Linked DNA regions of Homo sapiens: region 1 is linked to region 2. The links are contacts of gene promoters, found by promoter capture Hi-C in blood cells and fetal thymus (Javierre and others, 2016). All regions are on one chromosome and are shown on one strand. Each heading gives the region's core, a stretch centred on a gene start or on the middle of the fragment in contact. The rest is flanking DNA. Distances are from core to core; before and after follow the strand shown.

Region 1 (7,265 bases), core at 1,008-3,507, 1.1 Mb before region 2:
AGTCCCTTCCAGGAGCAAGCCTGGGCGGGAGCGGGGGCTCGTTCAGTTCTAATATTCCTATCCCAAGGTCGGGTCTGAGCCTTGTTTCGCTGTTGCCCAGGCTGGAGAGTAGTGGTGCTATCATAGCTCGCTGCAGCCTCAATCTCCTCCTAGGCTCAAGCCATCCTCCCGCCTCAGCCTCTCGAGTGGCTGGGACCACAGGAGCACGCCATCACACCCGGCTCATTTTTTAAATTTCTGGTACAGATGGGAGTTTCGCTTTGCTGCCCAGGCTGGTCTCGAACTCCTGGCTTCCAGCGATCCTCCCGCCTCGCTCTCCCAGAGCTCTGGGATTACAGATGTGAGCCACCTGGTCCGGCCTAGTCTGCGCGTTTCTGCTGGGAGTCTTTGGCGTGCAGAAACTGACCGAGGGCCATTTCTCTGCAGCTGGGCCCGGTGTGGGCAGAGGATGCTGGGGTCAGTCACGCACTCCACGGCCACAACAACCTTCGCTCATACAATAGTCTCTGCACCCAAGTCAGCCGCACAGACTCCGTCACGTCCCAGCCCCGGCCCCGTCACGCCCACGACACACACACCCGGGCCTGAGGCGCGGGCTCCCGCCCCTCTGCGATACTGCAGTGGCCCCGCTTACCTCTCTTTACCCCCTGGGCCGCAGCGCTTTTCCTACAGATTACCAGGACCGACGCTCCGGGCCAGGACTGCTCACTCGGGGCGCGAACCCGAGGCACAGCGATGCCCGAACGGAGGAAGCCGCTGCCGGGTCACGCCACAATCCCCGGGGCCTAACGGGCTGCGCGCGGAGGCTGCTGGGAGGGCCGGGCGCGCTCACGGAGTGCGCAGGCGCGGCCAGTCTCAAGGGTCCGCTCGCTGGTGCAGCCCCTGCTCTGCGTGAACCCGGAGCCGGAGCTAGGTCCGTCCCAGCGAGGCTGCGCTTCGAGTCCCTTAGCGCCTGGGGACGGCGCGGCAGGGCCTGGAGGGGAGCGGGGACAGATGGCTGGCGCGTTAAAGAGGGGCGCCCGCGACCGCCTCTCTATAGTGCCAACTAGGGAGCCCTGTGAGCGAGGACGGCGCTGCGAGTCTGTCCCTGGCGCGCTCCTGGGTGGGATTCTTTCACTGGGTGTGGCTGTTGGGATTTGAGACCGTGTGACTCCGGAGATTCGGGGAAGCCAGTTCCTATATTTTCCATTTCTGTATTTTTAAATGGTAAAAACAATGAAAAGGAGAACAATATTTTGTGAAATATGAAAATCATACATGTCAAATTTCAGTGTCCATAAATAAAAGTTTTATTGGAACATAGCCGTGTTTGATTGTGTACTGTCTATTGCTATATTTGAGCTACAAGGACAGACTCGAGTAGTTACACAGACCAGATGGCCCACGCAGCCTAAAATACAGTCAGTTCTCACTATTCACAGTAGTTATGGTCTATAAACTTGCTACAAACACGGAATTAGTGAATACCATTCCACTGCTTCTAGGGGAAATACAGGGTTAGTTTCCTGTAAGCATCTGGTCACATTTTAGTCAACCGATGAATGCATAAGCTTATTTTATTGTGTTTATTTTCTTTTTTTCTTTTTTTTTTTTTTTTTTGAGATAGGGTCTTGCTCTGTCACCCAGGCTGGAGTGCAGTGGTGGGATCTTGGCTCACTGCAACCTCCTCCGCCTCCCGGGTTCCAGCAATTCTCCTGCCTCAGCCCCCAGAGTAGCTGGGAATACAGATGCATGTCACCATGCCCAGCTGATTTTTGTATTTTGTAGAAACGGAGTTTCACCATGTTGACCAGGCTGGTCTCAAACTCCTGACCTCAGGTGATCCACCCGCCTTGGCCTCCCAAAAGTGCTGGGATTATAGGCATGAGCCACCGCGCCTGGCCTTATTGTGTTTCTATTTAAACACTTTAATATATATTATTGATTCATTAACATTGAACTCATGGCCAACAGCTCCATAACTCATGCCTGAATGAAGCTTATCTAACACATGTATTTTTTCTGTAAGACACATGACCGCTTTCTCATTCATAGGAACATCAACAGCACTTTAGTACTACTACATTTGGGGTCCCTTTGAAACAGCAAAATCACCAGCAAAAAACAAAAATATGAGAAGCCAAGGTACTAAATGGACTGCAAAAAGGGTACCTGTTTACAGTATGAGAGCTGAAATAAGAAGATAGAGGGTCACTTTGTTTGACTTTGGCTGAGAACATGCCTGTTAAGGGACTCAAAAAGGTTCACCGCTCTTCGGATGTCCACAAATGACCACAAAGGTGCTGCAAATATTGACTCTGGGTTTATAAAAAAGTTTTAGCAAGTAGATGAATTCACAAATTCAGAATCTGTGAATGAAGATTGACTGTATTTACTATCAGGCCCTTTAAAGAAAAAGTTTGCCAATCCCTGTTTTTATATGTCCCTCTTAGTTATACAGCTAGTGTTTAAAAACTACTTGAAATAATTATTTTCCCTGTGCCACCAATTATGTCTATAATTGATTGTACCCCATTAAATAAGCACAAAGAAAAAAGAAAGCTTTCTTTATAGAAGAAGGCCAGCTAATAACTATCAAGGGTTTGATTTTACGTGGCTTAGACACGCTGCTTCAAATGCATTTAAGATGTTTGGTTTTAACAAGGATTTTGCAACAGTATAGTGTTTTCCTTAAGTTCAATGTCATTTCTATGTCATGGCAGCTGTCACCTGCAGTTAGGTAAGACAGTGACATCATTAACATGGATGCATTTTCATGGCATGAAGGCTAGCCATTGATGGGGTAATATAACACAATTTATCAGTAAACGCTGAGTTTTCTTTGAAGTCAGTCTCTGATTTCTTACAGTGCTTGATGTCTGCCTTGCCTGCTAGTGACCAATTCCCCTGCGTCTTTACAGAGCCTTGTTACTCACTCAGTGTAAAGACAGTGGGGGAAACAAGGTTTCCCAAAGTATCCTTATGTGCAAAAGTGTTTCTTACTACTTTGGAAATACTAAGCTGAGTTTAATGTTTATTCTTTTTCTACCAACAGACACAAAAAGGACAAGCACATGCCTTAGAATATTCAATACAATTTTCTACAGCGATATGGTTAAATACTCTTCTGTCTTCACTACTTTTTTGTTTTTACTTTACTTGGAAATTTTAATTCTCTAGGAATAACGGGGCAGGAGTCTAAAATAATACTTTGTGGGAGTGAAGTATATATTTTTTTCCAAGTAAAAAAAAAAAATCAGGCCAGGCGTGATGGCTTAGGCCAGGCGTGATGACTCATGCCTGTAGTCCCACATACTCGGAAGGCCAAGGCAGGAGGATAGCTTGAGCCTGTGAGATCGAGATTACAGTGAGCTATGGATCGGCCACTGCACTCCGGGCTGGGCGACAGAGCGAGACCCTGTCTCAAAATTAAAAAAAGGAAAAAAAAAAAAAAAAAAGTCTGCGCTCCCCGGGGCCCAAGGAGAGGACCCAGGAGAGGAGTCTGGCTCCTTTTGCCTCAGACGAGTCCAGGGCGCCGGGTTAACTGGTCTAAAGTCCCAGGCGCTTTCTGGGACTGCTCAGCCACCGGCCGCTCCCGGCACCAGGGGACGCCGGACGCCCTCTGGACAATCGGCGCACTTGCCACGATCTTGGACGGGCCTCGGGCCTCGACCTTAAGATTCCCCGCTCCAGCTCCGAGATGTCAGCAACGCTGATCCTGGAGCCCGCGGGCCGCGGCTGCCGAGACAAGCCGGTGCGCATCACCATGCGCGGCCTGGCTTCGGAGCCGCTGGACACGCTGCGCGCGCGTCCCTGCGCGACGAGAAGGCTGGGCTCTTCCGCTACTGCGCCGACGCCCGCGGCGAGCTGGACCTGGAGCGCGCGCCCGTGCTGGGCGGCAGCTTTAGGGGGCTAGAGTCCATGGGGCTGCTCTGGGCCCTGGAATCCAAGAAACCTTTTTGGCGCTTTCTGAAGCGGGACGTACAGATTCCCTTTATCGTGGAGTTGGAGGTGCTGGACGGCCACGACCCCGAGCCTGGACGGCTGTTGTGACAGGCGCGGCACGAGCGCGACTTCCTCCCACAAGGGGTGCGGAGCGATTCGGTGCGCGCGGGCCGGGTGCGCGCCACGCTCTTCCTGCCGCCAGGACCTGGACCCTTCCTAGGGATCATTGGCATCTTTGGTAATGGAGGGAGCCTGTTGGAATATCGAGCCAGCCTCCTTGCTGGCCATGGCTTTGCCACGTTCGCTCTAGCTTGTTATAACTTTGAAGATCTCCCCAAGAACGTGGACAACATACCCCTGGAGTACTTCGAAGAAGCCCTATGCTACATGCTTCAACATCCCCAGGTAAAAGGCCCAGGCACTGGGCTTTGGGGCATTTCTCTAGGAGCTGATATTTGTCTCTCAATGGCCTCATTCTTGAAGAATGACTCAGACACAGTTTCCATCAATGGATCCGGGATCAGTGGGAACAGAGGCATAAACTGTAAGCAGAATAGCATTCCACCATTGGGCTATGACCTGAGGAGAATCAAGGTAGCTTTCTCAGGCCTCGTGGACGTCGTGGATATAAAGAATGATCTTGTAGGAGGGTATAAGAACCCCAGCATGATTTCAATGGAGAAGGCCCAGGGCCCCATCATTTTCATTGTTGGTCAGGATGACCATAACTGGAGGAGTGAGTTGTATGCCCAGTCTCTGAACGGTTACGGGCCCATGGAAAGGAAAAACCCCAGATCATCTGTTACCCTGGGACTGGGCTTTACACTGAGCCTCCTTACTTCCCCCTGTGCCCAGCTTCCCTTCACAAATTACTGAACAAACACGTGATATGGGTTGGGGAGCCAGGGCTCATTCTAAGGCCCAGGTAGATGCCTGGAAGCAAATTCTAGCCGCCTTCTGCAAACACCTGGGAGGTACCCAGAAAACAGCTTTCCCTAAATTGTAATGCGTTTGTCTGTTGTTGACATGAGAGAGTCAAGATCAGATTCTAGTGTTCAATAACCCTATGTGAATCAGCTGTCTCCTGGATAACATTAAAGCCATGTCTTTGTCATTAAAAAAAAAAAAAATCGGCCGGGCGCAGTAGCTCACGCCTGTAATCCCAGCACTTTGGGAGGCTGAGGCATGCAGATCATGAGGTCAGGAGTTCGAGACCAGCCTGGCCAACATGGCGAAACCCCATCTCTACAAAAAATACAAAAATCAGCCAGGAGTGGTGGCGGGCACCTGTGATCCCAGCTACTTGGGAGGCTGAGGCAGGAGAATCGCTTGAACCCGGGAAGCGGAGGTTGCAGTGAGCCAAGATCATGTCATTGCACTCCATCCTGGAAGATAAGAGCAAGATTCTGTCTCAAGAAAAAAAAAATTAGTAAACTAGAAATCTCTGAACAAAGTATCATACATGTAATTTAATTTTCCCATAGATATAGGTAAAGAGAAGTTGTTGAGTTACAGCCTCTATCTAGCACAGCAATCTCCTCAAAACACAAGGTAGCCGCCCGGAGAGGCCACAGAGGAGATATCTAAGAGATATAACACTGGGGATGTTTGCAATTGGAAATTAAATGACATTTTAGAAATGTAGTTATCAATGTCAAGCCTTGATAGACATCAGTCTGAAACCTAATACATGTTTTATATATAATAAATTTAAACAGCTTAAATTCTCATCCATTCAAAATGGGAGAAAAACTAAGTAAATGTGATAAATGTATTGAGGTGTTTGGCTTTCAATCAATGCTTCCTGATACTCGAAAAGTCTTCACAGGGAAGGAACCAAATAAATGCAGAGTATGGAAAAAATGAAGCCATACACATATTATTGTGTGGTAAATATTTCCATTGAAAGTCAAATCTTTACACTCACCGAAGCATTTCCATAAGAGAAAAGATGTATATTAGAAATGTAAATGTTTTTATAGCAATTGAAATCTTTACAGAGGTAGAGAAATCTGGTAACTGTTATTAGTGTAGTAGGGATTTAAGCTAAGTTCTTGTCTCATGGTAGTCATCCAGGTTCTTGATGTTTTGAACAAAGAATTGGACAAAATGCACAAAGCAACAAAACAATGAAGCAACGGAAGCACAGATGTATTGAAATGAAAGTACACTCTACAGAGTGGGAGCAGGACCAAGCCTCAAAGAGTGCTGGTTACAGAATTTCCTGGGGTTTAAATACCCTCTAGAGGCTTCCCATTGGTTACTTGGTTACACCCTATGTAAATGAAGGAGTGGCCCACAACCAGTCTGATTGGTTGCAGAAGACAGGACCAATCAGAGACTAAATAGTAGTTACCAAGTTACGCCCTATGCAAATATCTGATTGATTGCGGGAGGGGACCAATCAGAGGTACTTTCCATTTTTCATCTGCCACACAGTGCAAAGGTAGTAACCTCTGATCCTTTTGTTATTTGGGTGTGGAGAGACGGGGTTTTCCTTTTGATTCAGTTCTAAGAAGTCAGCGGGAATGGCCTTAGGTTCCCTGCCTCCAGACCTATTCTCCTGTCTCACCTCCATTTATCACTAAAGAGTTCACAATACATGACCCTCCAGAAAAGAGACATGTGACATTAATATGTCAGACTCAACCAGTGTCTTCACACTGGAATGACTTTATTAGTGTGAAGCTGGAGTAACATTTTATCATTAGCACAGAACGAGAAGCATTGCAGATGATAGAGCCTTTTTTGGTCACCAAGTGACGCAGCCAGTACACTGTTGACTAGCAGTGATGGTAGCAGGCCTTCTTGCCTTGGTCCTGATCTTAAAGGGAAAGATTTCGGTATTTCATCACTAAGTAAAAAATGTGTTGTTGGTTTTTTGAAACAGGGTCTCCCTCTGTCGCCTAGGTTGGAGTGCAATGGTGCCATCAGGGCTCACTGCAGCCTCTACCTCCTAGGCTCAAGTAGTTCTCCTGACTCAGCCTCCTGAGTAGCTGGGACAAGTACCACCACACCCAGCTAATTTTTAAAATTTTTTGTAGAGATGAGGTCTCACTATATTGCCCAGGCTGGTCTCAAACTCCTGGGCTCAAGTAATCCTCCTGCCTCAGCCTCCCGAAGTGCTGGGATTACAGGTGTGAGGCACCATGCCCATCAAAAAATGCGCTTAAATTTCTCCCTGGATATCCTTTCTTAGAAGTTTCCTTGTATCTCTATTTTTCCAAGAGGCTTGATGATAATTGGATTTGAAATTCTATCATCTTTTCTGTATCTTTTGAGATGATCCTGGGGTTCTTTCTAAATTAATACGTTAATGTGGGGAATCATATTAACTGATT
Region 2 (7,026 bases), core at 3,814-6,313:
GGACCCGCGCTGGCCCCAGTCTCTGAATTCCCTCAGTATTTATTGATCACTATGTTGACCATCTCGGAGAGGGGCATGTGGCAGGACTATAGGGTAATGGTGGGGAGAGGGTCAGCAGGAAAACGTGAGCAAAGGACTCTGTGTCATAAATAAGTTTAAGGAAAGGTGCTGTGCCTTGATGTGCACGTAGGCCAGATTTATGTTTAACTTTACACGAACATCTCAGTGCAGTAAAGAGTATTGCCACCAGCATGTCTCAGCAACCACAAGGCGGTTTTCTCCTATCTCGGTAAATAGAATGTATGATCAGGTTTTATGAGACATTCCATTCCCAGGGACGAGCAGGAGACAGATGCCTTCCTCTTATCTCAACTGCAAAGAGGGCTTCCTCTTTCACTAATCCTCCTCAGCACAGACCCTTTACGGGTGTCGGGCTGGGGGATGGTCAGGTCTTTCCCTTCCCAGGAGGCCATATCTCAGGCTATCACATGGGAAGAAATCTTGGACAATACCCAGGCTTTCTTGGGCAGAGGTCCCTGTGGCCTTCCTCAGTGTATTGTGTCCCTGGGTACTCGAGACTGGAGATTGGTGATGACTTTTACCAAGCATACTGCCTGCAAACACATTTTTCACAAAGCACATCCTGCACAGCCCTAAATCCATTAAACCTTGAGTCAATACAGCACCTGTTTCTGCAAGCACAGGGTTGGGGCTAGGGTTACAGATTAACAGCATCTCAAGGCAGAAGAATTTCTCTTAGTACAGATCAAAATGAAGTTTCTTATGTCTTCCTTTCTCTACATAAACACAATAACAGTCTGATCTATTTTTCTTTCCCCCACAACAAACAACACTCAGGCCCAGGTAAGGTCCTTTCTGCTCCAGAGCAAGGAAGCGCTGTGCCTCCTTTTAGGCCAAATTTGGGGCCCTGTACCCTTTTAAATGATGACAGTGTCTAGGGCCACCACATTTAGTTCAAGGCTTGGACCTATAGGCATAAGCTCACTGGAACAGGTGAGAGCTGATGGTCACTGCAGGTTGGGTTAGCCCAGAGCCTTGGAGCTAGTCTGCCTAGAGGCTCCTTTCTCGAATTCCTCTGCCTAGAGGAATCACACTGTCATAGGCCATAAATGCTAATGATGACCTTGGCAGGGTCCTATCTTTCTGCAGACTATGATAAAGTTCTGTTACTTCTTTTCTCACTCCCTCTGTTCCCTGGCCCACATCATTACTCAATACTCTGAATAGTATGCTTTTTCTTTTAAAAATGAAGGTATAATTTACATATAATAACACAAATAAGTGTTCACTTTGATGAGTCTTTGACAATTACGTAGGCCCATGAAACTACCACATAAAACAAGACATAGAACATTTTCCTCACCCCCTAAATTATCTTCGAAGTCATAGCCCCAGCCAGGCACAGTGGCTTACGCCTGTAATCCCAGCACTTTGGGAGGCTGAGGCATGCGGATCGCTTGAGGTCAGGAGTTTGAGACCAGCCTGGCTAAGATGGTGAAACGCCATCTCTACTAAAAATACAAAAATTAGCCGGGTGTGATGGCGCATGCCTGTAATCCCAGCTACCTGGGAGGCTGAGGCACGAGAATCACTTGAACCTGGAAGGAGGTTGCAGTGGGCCGAGATGGAGATCTCACCACTGCACTCCAGCCTGGGAGACAGAGTAGAGACTCTGTCTCAGAAAAAAAAAAAAAAAAAAAAAAAATAGCCCCTGGAGTCAACTGCTTTCTGATTTATAACTCAATAGATCTGTTTTGCCTGTTCTTGAGTTTCTCATGACTGGAGTCCTACAGTGTGTACTCTTCTTTTACCTGTTTCCTCTTTCCATGTGTACTCCTTCCCCAATCAAGAGGTCAGCTCCTTGAGTAGCCTCTATTTTTACTCGAGTACTCAGTCTTCTTTTTCCCAATTCAGTTGCTGAGATATATTTAGGTTCTAATAAATTTTGGGTAAAATTTAATAATGATGCTAATGATCCTTTACTTCTGAATAACACAGAAACACCCAGCTCTGAATCCTTGTTGCTTTATTTACTCACTGAATGATTACGGACAGGTCACCTCACCCCCGTGTTGCAGTTTCTTTTGAAGCGTGATGATAACACTATCTTTACAATGTTTGTGGCAGTCTTTAATGTTATTCCAAAATATCGCCAGCTCTTCCCATCCCAGAATTATGGTAGGATTACATGTCTGCTATCACACTCCTGGGTGGCCATGTGACGTCTCAAAGACTAGTGAATGGAAATGACATGTATAGTTTTTGAGGCAGAACGTTTAATTCCCAGCAAAAGACCCTCAAAGGCTGTCTTTCCCTCGGCCTTCATGAGTGACAATTTACCAGTTGTGGCTGCTTTATTGGTCTAATCCTAGAATAAGAACAGCCCTTGAAGTGAGCAGGCCAGTGATCAATCAGGCATTTAATAGGCACTTTATAAATACTCATTTTACTTCAATATTATTATTTTTGTTTTTTTAGAGACAGAGTCTCACCCAGGCTGGAGTGCAATGGCACAATCTTGGCCCACTGAAACCTCCACCTCCTGGGTTCAGTGATTCTCCTACCTCAGCCTCCCGAGCAGCTGGAATTATAGGCGTCCACCATGCCGGCTAATTTTTGTATTTTTAGTAGAGACGGGGTTCCAACATGTTGGCCGGGTTGGTCTTGAACTCCTGACCTCAGGTGATCTGCCCACCTTGGCTTCTCAAAGTGCTGGAATTACATGTGTGAGCTACCATGCCCAGCCTAAATGGTGATTTTAAATTAATTACTATAATCACTTCAAAGTGTTGTCATATAAACCACTTATATTAAATCAAATGAAGCAAGGACCCTTGACCTCTTTGTTAAATTTTAAAAATCTAGCAGAGCCATAGGCCTTTAATTTTTCCATCGCAAGGAAGAAGAGGAAACTGGTAATAATCTCCTCTGACAGAATAATCTCGCAACTTTAGGAACTTTATTTAAAGAATTCAGAAATGGGGTTGGGCGCGGTGGCTCACACCTGTAGTCCCAGCACTTTGGGAGGTCGAGGCAGGCGGATCACCTGAGGTCGGGAGTTCGAGACCAGCCTGACCAACATGGAGAAACCCCGTCTCTACTAAAAATACAAAATTAGCCTGGCGTGGTGGTGCATGCCTGTAATCCCAGCTACTCAGGAGGCTGAGGCAGGAGAATCGCTTGAACCCGGGAGGCAGAGGTTGCGGTGAGCTGAAATTGCACCAATGCACTCCAGCCTAGGCAACAAGAGCGAAACTCCGTCTCAAAAAAAAAAAAAAAGAAGAAATGTCAATTGTAGCATTTTAACACAGCATTGAAGTTATCTACTGATGCATAGCAAATTACCCTAAACTCAGAAGCTTAAAACAACAAACATGTAGTATCTTACACACTTTCTGAGGGTGAGGAATATAGGAGCTGCTATAGCTGAGTGCTTGTGACTGTGTCTCTCACGCAGTTGCAGTCAAACTATTGGCAGGGGCTGCTGTCATCTCAAGGTTTGACTGGGGCTGGGAGATGTGCTTCCAAGGGTGATACACTTGGTTATAGGAAGGCCCCAGCTACTCCCAGGCTATTGGGTGGAGGGCTTAGTTCCTTGCTACCTGGGCCTCTCCATAGGCTGTCTCGGTATCCTCATGACATGGCAACTAACTTCTCTCAAAGTGGGGGCAGCAGCCTTTAAGACAGAACTCAAGGTGCCATTTATTATATTTAATCTCAGCAGTGACATCTATCACTGCTACTGCATTCTATTAGTCTCACAGTCCAACCCTGGTACAATGTGGGAGGGAACTACATAAGAGTGTGAATAGTAGGAGGTAGGAATCATTGGGAAACATTTTGAGGTCAGTTATTGTATCAGTTGCTAGGATGACCAGTTGGAATTAGGATTTTTTTAAAAAGCCATTTTCATAAGACAAGGCAATCTTTTCTAGAGATGTTCCAATACCTGTGATATGCGGAGCACTGCGCTAGGTGGTATTCAAGGCAGGCCTGTAGTGAATGCTGTTGGACCCAGCCACCACCCCTGAGCAATCATATGCAGACCGCTGGCTTCTTAACTGCAGACACCTACAGACTCAGCCTAAGACTTTCCCACGAGGCAGGCTCGAAGTGCTGGAGCTTTAACACCTCTGGAGTGGCCCTAAAACAATTAGGAAGAGAGATGGTGTAGACATATGTAAGCTTCATCGGCCTGGTGGTTGTGAAAACTTGGAAGTGGTTTCTACACAATCCCCCAGAGGTCCCAAGCTGACTGAGCCCTCATTGATCCAGAGCTAATCTGCTCACCTATGCACTGTATATTCGTTCCCATCGCTCCCGTCTCACTTCTCCATCCCCCACCTACCAAATAAACTGCTTGCACTCATTCTTTCCTCAGGTCGGCTTCTCGGGCAAGCCTCCTTAGGTAAAAACCTTGCTTTCAACATTTCCTTTCCATTATGCGCTAAGAACTCTGATCTCTTCCCGCTGCGGCAGCCCCGCCCTTTCCTTGCGGCTCCGCCCTTTCCGTGAAGTCACGCCCGTCCTTAGGCTGTCTCTGTCTCCCTAAGAGCGAGTCTCTTCGCTGCTCTCTAACTCCTAGAGCTGGCTCAGAAAGAGTTTCACATTGCCATAGGGGAGCTCCTAGGAGAGGCTGCACCCATTGCACGTAAGAAGCGGTAAAAATGTACGCGGCCATCTTACCAGGCTGCCGGAGACAAAGAAAGCTCAGCTTTGATGTCTGGGCGCCACCATGTTGGCCACAGGAGGTTTTGGCATCTGAGATGCTGAGTTAAGAGCAGAGACGACATCTCTGTTTAGGGATCCAGGGACACTTCCTTCTCCTTGTCCTAAAATAGCCTTATCTTTTGGTCTAGCAAAGGGCTTAATCATCCGTTTTACGGCACAGTTTTAAACATGGCCGCCCCAGGTAGGAGTCAAGTGGGCGTCGCCATCATACCTCCAATTACAGCTTTGAGAAACCCAGAATCCTGTTCACTGGAAGGTTGCCGGGTGGCGGCTGACAGCCTCAAAGTCGCAATTGAGTCTGCGCACCGGCCATTCAGGATGGGACGACCTTATACCGCGGTGAGGCGGCGTGGCAGGACGACCAATTTCAGATTCAGGGCGCGGATGCAGCATAAATGGGAAGGCACGGTTTGAGAAACGGTCAAACCTGGGACTAGTGGAGGATAGTGAGCTGCCGACTACGGTGGCCGACTGGGTCAGCTATGGGTGCCCGTGAGGGTCAATGACAAGGGAACTGAAGGGTTAAGAGATTCGGCGTCTGAGCCTCGCGGGGCCTCAGTGGTGGCGGACAGAGGTTTGCGGGAGTCAGTGGCACGGTCTCTGAAGAAGATGGATTGGGAGTGTGTGGGAATCAATAAATGCGAGTTCTGTGAAATGTCTTGATTTTCAGGGTGCATGGGGTCAGTAATAGTGGTCTTCATGGGTCTGGGGTCAGTTGGGATTTTTCAGACACTGGTTTAGAGATCTTTAAGGTTAATGATCGGAGCCCGAGAGGATCAGTGATCGGAGGTTCTAAGTTCTGTGGGCAGTAATAGTTTGGGTACTGGAATTGGTGATTGTGGAAACTTTGGGGTTCAAATGAGGGAGGTCAGTGGTGATGAATGTTTGGAGAAATGTTTTGGGCCATCGGTGATTGAGACTTACTTCATATCATCGGTGGAGGATCGGAGAGTATTAACGATTGGACTTTTGTAGATCAGGGAATGGAGAATAGAGTCAAGTGTGCTTATCTTAAAGGTACGCCTCAATGAGGCTCAGTGATTCGGACTGTCACTTGTGGGTGGGAGTGGGACTGTGAGAATCAACAATTGATCCTCAGTCGTTGGGATATCATTGGCAATCAGTGTGGATTCATGATTGGGGGCTGTGTAATTTCACTGGCAATCAGATCGGATCGGTGTTCTTTGTAGTTACTGACCTGTAGTCTCTCCTGGTCAGATTTGAACATAGGGGAATATCAGTGACTATGAAAACCTCTGAGGGTTGGAGATTGGAGGCCAGTGATTGGGGGCACTATGCGTGTCTGATTAGGAGACTTATAGGGGTTGGTGTTGAGGGTCCTGAAATGTGGAGATTGGGGATGGGAAAATCACAGATTTGAGGCTGCAAGCCTGCATAGCGGGAACACATTTCACTCAGGTGACACTCCCTAGCTGAATAGCAGCCAGTTCCTCTCCACCAAGGCCCATCTGAAAACTCTTTTTTGAACCCACACCCTTTTTATTGTTCTCTACAATAATGAAAATAATTTGAAAGGATCGCGTGCTAAACTTATCTAAAGTAACATGTTACTAAAGACGTGGCTTCTATTCTTGTTAGGGATCTAATGCATATTTTTTCCTAATGTTTCCTTTAAGGCTCTTTCTGGCAAAGGTAATGACATACGCATCTGTGCCAGCATCCCAAGAGTGAGGCTGGTTTCTGGAAATCCATTCTGACTCTGTGACAGCGGGGATGGATGTGACCTTGCCCGTGGTTAGAAAACAAATTTACTGAGTAAGTATCTAAAATGATAATGTAGGCTGTGTGCAGTGGTTCATGCCTGTAATCCCAGCACTTTGGGAGGCTGAGGTGGGTGGATCATTTGAAGTCAGGAATTACTAGCCTGGTCAACATGGTGAAACCCTGCCTCTACTAAAAACACAAAAATTAGCCGGGCGTGGTGGCGGGCGCCTGAGGTCCCAGCTACTCTGGAGGCTGAGGCAGGAGAATCGTTTGAACCCAAGAGGTGGAGATTGCAGTGAAACGAGATTGTACCACTGCACTCCAGCCCGGGTGACAGAATGAGACTCTGTCTCAAGATAAATAAATAAATATAAATAAACAAAATAAAATAAAATGATAATGTAAAAGATTTGGCTGAAAGAGCAAACAGAGTGTTTAGAAAATACTTTTATCTAGGCTCAACTTAAATTATCAAAGGAAGAGAAACTAGATTTGGAATTTATTGTATTCTGAGAAACTTTTTGCCTTGTCCTATATATTTTAGGCATA

What was found. The method cuts DNA at HindIII sites, captures the fragments that hold promoters and counts their contacts. A CHiCAGO score of 5 or more calls a contact.
Region 1: a contact is called between a fragment that was not itself captured here and the fragment with the promoter of ZNF793 in region 2, in 2 of 17 cell types (total CD4 T cells and non-activated CD4 T cells). The highest score is 5.5, in total CD4 T cells.

Annotation. Positions count from the first base shown.
Region 1 is chr19:36,417,858-36,425,122 of GRCh38, forward strand. It overlaps ZFP82 (ZFP82 zinc finger protein), which reads right to left and starts at 787. Exons shown (of 5, transcript NM_133466.4): 1 at 635-787. It also overlaps the pseudogene ACOT4P1. RefSeq lists enhancers at 156-315, 3,846-4,528. The HindIII fragment of the contact is 563 bases long and covers 1,977-2,539 here.
Region 2 is chr19:37,501,876-37,508,901 of GRCh38, forward strand. It overlaps ZNF793 (zinc finger protein 793), which reads left to right and starts at 5,064. Exons shown (of 8, transcript NM_001013659.3): 1 at 5,064-5,091; 2 at 6,390-6,528. It overlaps ZNF793-AS1 (ZNF793 antisense RNA 1), which reads right to left and starts at 5,212. Exons shown (of 3, transcript NR_110723.1): 1 at 4,964-5,212; 2 at 3,971-4,165. RefSeq lists enhancers at 3,982-4,773, 4,774-5,565, 5,131-5,280. The HindIII fragment of the contact is 7,284 bases long and covers 4,205-7,026 here.